Linked DNA regions of Homo sapiens: region 2 is linked to region 1. The links are contacts of gene promoters, found by promoter capture Hi-C in human tissues and cell types (Jung and others, 2019). All regions are on one chromosome and are shown on one strand. Each heading gives the region's core, a stretch centred on a gene start or on the middle of the fragment in contact. The rest is flanking DNA. Distances are from core to core; before and after follow the strand shown.

The links. The method cuts DNA at HindIII sites, captures the fragments that hold promoters and counts their contacts. A contact is called where the count stands out against the background at its distance.
Region 2: a fragment that was not itself captured here is called in contact with the fragment with the promoter of PLK4 in region 1 in 1 of the 25 tissues and cell types used here (hippocampus).

The regions. Positions count from the first base shown.
Region 1 is chr4:127,879,378-127,882,151 of GRCh38, forward strand. It overlaps PLK4 (polo like kinase 4), which reads left to right and starts at 1,516. Exons shown (of 16, transcript NM_014264.5): 1 at 1,516-1,787; 2 at 2,454-2,549. The coding sequence starts at 1,758. RefSeq lists an enhancer at 1,600-1,839. The HindIII fragment of the contact is 10,406 bases long and covers 1-2,774 here.
Region 2 is chr4:127,630,492-127,633,191 of GRCh38, forward strand. INTU (inturned planar cell polarity protein) reads left to right here and starts at 2,466. Exons shown (of 16, transcript NM_015693.4): 1 at 2,466-2,689. The coding sequence starts at 2,544. RefSeq lists enhancers at 2,114-2,653, 2,316-2,495. The HindIII fragment of the contact is 3,914 bases long and covers 1-2,700 here.

The DNA of each region.
Region 1 (2,774 bases), core at 266-2,765:
TAATTGGCCTGCACTCTTCAAAAATCTCAATGTCACAAAAATACAAATGCTGAGGAACTCTTCCATATTAAAGGAAATTAAAAAGATATGGTAACTAAATACGGTATGTGATCCTGTACTAGATCTATACTGGAAGGAAAAAATGTTAAATAAAGACATTACTGGAACAATTGACAAATCGGAATATGAACTGTAGATTAGATTAAATATAAATATTGTATCAATGCTAAATATCCTTAATTTGATAAACATACAAGAGGATACCCTGGTTCTTAAGAAATTCACACTTTAGAAATAAGGGGTATAAGAGCATAGTGTATGTAACCTATTTTAGAATGATTCATAAAATACAAATAATAGGCTTATTTATATATTTATACATGTATATTACACATGAAGAATAGTAAAAACAAGTGTGGCAAAATGTTAAGAATTGGTTAATCTGAGTAAAGGACAACAGGAGTTCTCTATTATTTTTACAACTTTTCTGTAAGCTTAAAATTATTTGAAACTAAAAAGTTTAAAAAAAAAAATGGGCCGGGCATGGAGGCTCACGCCTGTATTCCTAGCACTTTGGGAAGCCGACGCAGGCGGATCACCTGAGGTCAGGAGTTCGAGACCAGCCTGGCCAACATGGTGAAACCCCGTCTCTACTAAAAATACAAAAATTAGCCAGTCGTGGTGGCGCGTACCTGTAAATCCCAGCTACCCGGGAGACTGAGGAAGGAGAATCGCTGGAACCCAGGAGATGGAGGCTGCAGTGAGCCGAGATCGAGTCACTGCACTCCAGCCTGGGCGACAGAGCGAGACTCCATCTCAAAAGAAAAAAGAAAAAGAAAAAGAAATACACACTAACATCAAGGAAAAGAGCTTTCACTTAATAACAGAAGATCTAAGTTTGTGCGCTACTTCTGTTTGTTAAATATCCTTCCTTAAGCATCACACTTTTCTCACCTGCAAAACACCATCCCAAACTTACAGAGGTCTCTTTTGATCCATACAAATTATGTGTATGAGAGATCTAACTGTAAATTATTATACAAATGACATTATAATATTAAATACTTAGGAGTTTGCCAAAATAAAGAATGGAGTTCGTTTTCTTAAGGTACCGTACACATTAACTACAGTTATAACAAACTACGGAATAAGCGGTAGTGGTGTAAACGGTGTTCCTTAAAGGAAGGTAATGTTTTTTGCCCTGTTCCGTCAAGTCTTAAACGCTTGACATTTTAAAATAGTTTTAAACCCTTTCCGGAATTAGAAGTGGTATTTCGGACCGTGAAGTAACCGATCAGCCATAAGTGTCCCATCTTTAAGGCCTGCTCTTTTACCCGTCTTGCAGAAGTTCTTCCGAGAGTGGGCCCGAGACAGCCTCCCGCCCGAACTAAACTCTCCGCAGCGCTTCCGGCCCTTGGCCCCGAAGTCTAGAACCCTGGGCCGGCCGCAAAGGAAGGTCTGCCGCGCATGCGCGCCCCGGCGCAGCCTATCCGGAGCGATCCATCTCGTTACGTCACCACCAGCCTAGCTCGGACGGCAAGCGGCGGGAGATTTTCAAAATGGGAGCCCAGAGGCACCGCCCAGGCCTCGGAAGGTGTCAGGGAGAACTTTCCGTGGTTTCAGCGTCGTCGCCTGGAGCGGCGGTTTAGAGAGCCGAGCCTGATGGGCGCCAAGGCCGGCTGGCTGCTTGGAGCGCTGCCTCGAAGGGACTGCGTGAAGGAAGCTAATCCGGAGAACCCAGGCCAGAGCCTGGAAATATGGCGACCTGCATCGGGGAGAAGATCGAGGTGAAAAGACTCGGCAGTCTGCAGCGGGGCGGGTGGGAGTAATTGTGGGAGGACACGAGACCGCTGTGGGAAGGGGAGCGAACGAAGCTAACGGCTGCGGGGCGGGCACCGAGGTGCTTAGGGAGGGTCCCAACGGCCCAGACCCCTGCTGTTTAGGGGCGGAGCGGCCCGCCCCTCAAGAGACAAGAGTAGGGAAGGCGGGACAGGTGAGTCCCTCCCCGCCCGGCAGTGTCCCGAGGCACTGCGGCTTTCTTTCAGCAATCCCGCCCGAGCTACCGCGTTAGAGCAGGGCAGGGCTACCTCCCACTTCTCCAAGGGGATGGCGGTTATCTCCGGCGGGAGCTGCGGCGGGATTCTGACCGAGCCCTCCGCTCCCGGGGATTGGCTGGAGATGGGAGGAGGGCGCTTAGGCTGCACTGAGGTTGAGGAACCAGATCACTAGGGTGCACCATCACCCTGAGCTTCCAGTCCAGCCTGGAAGCGCAGGTATCCCCGCACGGAGTCAACATGCCTTCCACCCTAGACACCTGCTGCATCGAGGTGTAATACCCGCTTGAATTTTGTCAAATTCCCCACTCGATCCATTTTATCTTCTTTTTCCAGCCCCTTCCCATCTTCCTTTCTACTGTGAGTCATCACACATAATCTTTAATTTTAACTTTTAAGGATTTTAAAGTTGGAAATCTGCTTGGTAAAGGATCATTTGCTGGTGTCTACAGAGCTGAGTCCATTCACACTGGTTTGGAAGTTGCAATCAAAATGGTAAGAATAAACTAATCAACTTCTCTCCTGTACTTTGCAAGTAACTAGAGAGGTATCAGAGATGTCAGAAACTCCTTGTCTACTAGCCTTTCCTTTGATTATAGTGTAAGGAACACTTTACATAGGCAGAAGACAATAGTGCCAAGTCCAGCCGTTGAACTTAAAAATATTTTAGGAAAGCCTTGACCTTGCTTAAGTAAGTTTTATCTTCATTAATGTTCAGTA
Region 2 (2,700 bases), core at 60-2,559, 250 kb before region 1:
TGTGGATTTCCATGGATGACTTAAGTTTTTTAATTATAATTTTAAATAAATGAGGTATAATCTGTGCTTTATAGCTCCTATATAAGATGAAAACAATTTTATGAATTAATACAAATAAATTACAAAATGTAATCGCTGTTATAACACTATAAAAACACATTTAGAAATTAAAACAAAACCATAAAACCTAGGAAATTCAAATGTATATAGTTTAATGTACATTTGTACATGTAATATACAAATTCAAATGTACATAGTTTAATGTATATTTGTACATGTAATGTACAGTTAATGTAAATACAACTAAACTTCAGCTTAAAAGTATAAGCTGCATACTGCAGCTTGTTTGGCTGTGAGGAAGGTAAAATATACTATCCTGGCCATTTAAGTTTAATACACTTGAAAAACAGCAAGTGCCTTTGTGCTGCTTCTTAAAAGCAACAGATGAAGCTCCCATGTGAAAGACACCCTCCCTATACTAGAAAAATGTAACATTCTTATTCTCAAGGGCATAGAAGTGAAACCAAGAGAATTCTGTACAGACCTTGTTAAAATAACTTATCTTTTAAGCTTCCCAATTTAGTTTAGTTGCTTCTTCACAACTAACTATTCTTTGTCCAATCCAGTATATAAGTTAACTGACTCTAACTGCTTCTTTGGGTCTTCATTTCTTTATGAGGGCTCCCCTGCCATGTAAAACTTGGATTCTAGAGCAAGGAGAGAGGTCTGTCTGCCAGGCTCAAATTTGCGAGGTGGGAGTGGGTTCCAGCCTATTCAGGGAATGGCCAGTTGGCCTGTATAGATGAAGCACAGAACTGAGAGAAAATTTAGGGCAGTTCCCCAAGTTTGCTGAATCACAGGGGGCACTTGTTTGAAATAGAGATTTCCAGGCCCCTCCACTGGAGATTCTGATCCTGTTGATGTGGAGCAGGGCCTCAACATCTGTATAACAAGTTCCAGTTGCTTTTCTTTTGTTAATCTATTTTAGGTAAGTTTAATTCTCAGGCCCAGCTGGGACCCTAAGAAGATGGAGGTAGAGTTTTTCTGCCCCTGCAACAGCTACAATTCAGGTTCCTTTGAGTTCTCCATGCATATACCCATACCGGCCATGTGATGACTCATCTCCCATTACTCTTTCTCTGTTGGAACCATGCCATAATAACAATATAAATTAATACTTCCTCTAAGAAATTTGTCATGGCCCCACGTATACTACTTTGGTTTTTTCTGGATATTCCATTAGAACCTTGTATTTATTGTAATACTTATCACTATGTTATAATTGCCCATTAGAGAATCCCCAGCACCCAGCCTTTTAGATCATAAAATAACATTATATCCTTTTTTTACACGCTGCAACATGAACATTTCCCCCATGCTTTACTCTTTGAACACATTCTAGTTAAAATCATAATCATCATATTTTATATATATTTAACTTTTCCCCCATTATTTGACATTTTAAGATTGCTTTCAGCTTTTCACTTTTACAAATTTTATAAATTTGCATCCTTTCTCAGAGTAGATATCTAATAGTTGAATTACTGGGTTCTGAGGGAGGAAATTTCATGTAATGGTTATTGACTTAGGTTCATTTCTTGGTTGACTTTGTTGACTGCTAGCCATGTAACCATTAGTAAGATGCATAACTTCTCTAAAGCTTAGTTTCCTTATTTAATATAGAGAAAATATTTACTTCATAGTATGTGAATGCTCAGCATTGTATATGAATAAAGTGAGCAGAGCCAAGGCTGACTCTCAATCAATGCTAGCTGTTATTTTTGTACTTAAAAAATACTTGATATAGGTATTCATAAATAACAGGTAGATTTTACCTGTTTACACTTCCAACTTTAATAATGAGAACACTTAATTAGATTATAAAATTTTGAGTTAGAAAATGAACATGAAGTTGATTCCACAGGATTGCCACTCATTTGTGGCACTCTACAATACCCACTTGGGATAACCGTGAAAATGTTTGCAATTGCGAAACAATATGAAACCCATAAAACAATGGAGCGTATTTACATTAACACCTAGATCGCGTTGCTTAAAAGCGTCCATTACTTGCACGGATGAGGTCCTAAGGAAAGGTAAAGTGCGGTTTCCTTCACCTCGAAGGAAATCCAGGCTGACCGACAGCTGTTAGGCATTAGAAACACAGGACAAAGAGCAAACTGGATATCCAGCACTGGAAGAAAAAGGTGAGAAGCCCAGTGCATCTCCGCCTGTTTTAACAGGTTATGCTGCTCTAAGGAATTGCGTTCCGGAGAGCGTAAGCGGTGAAGTTTTAGCTATTTCTATCCTTCCAACTGAGAAGCCCTCCTGGAAGTTTCAGCCCATTGGCTGCTTTCTGTTCTCCCTGTTTCTTCTGGGAAGCTTCTCCGTCTCCCTGGCAACGCGACCTGCCACCAATTGCAGCTAAGGATTGGTGGTCACATGGCCTCTGCCCCTTCCCAAGCAGAGGCAACATGGCGGCCTTAGCAAGCTATAGCTGCGAGATTTGAATTACTCCACTCGTAGCTATTGCATTCCTGACGATGGCCTCTGTGGCTTCGTGCGATTCGCGTCCGAGCTCAGACGAGCTCCCTGGAGACCCCTCTTCACAAGAAGAAGATGAGGACTATGATTTTGAAGATCGGGTCAGCGACTCGGGTTCATATTCCTCAGCGAGTAGCGATTATGAGTAAGGTTTTC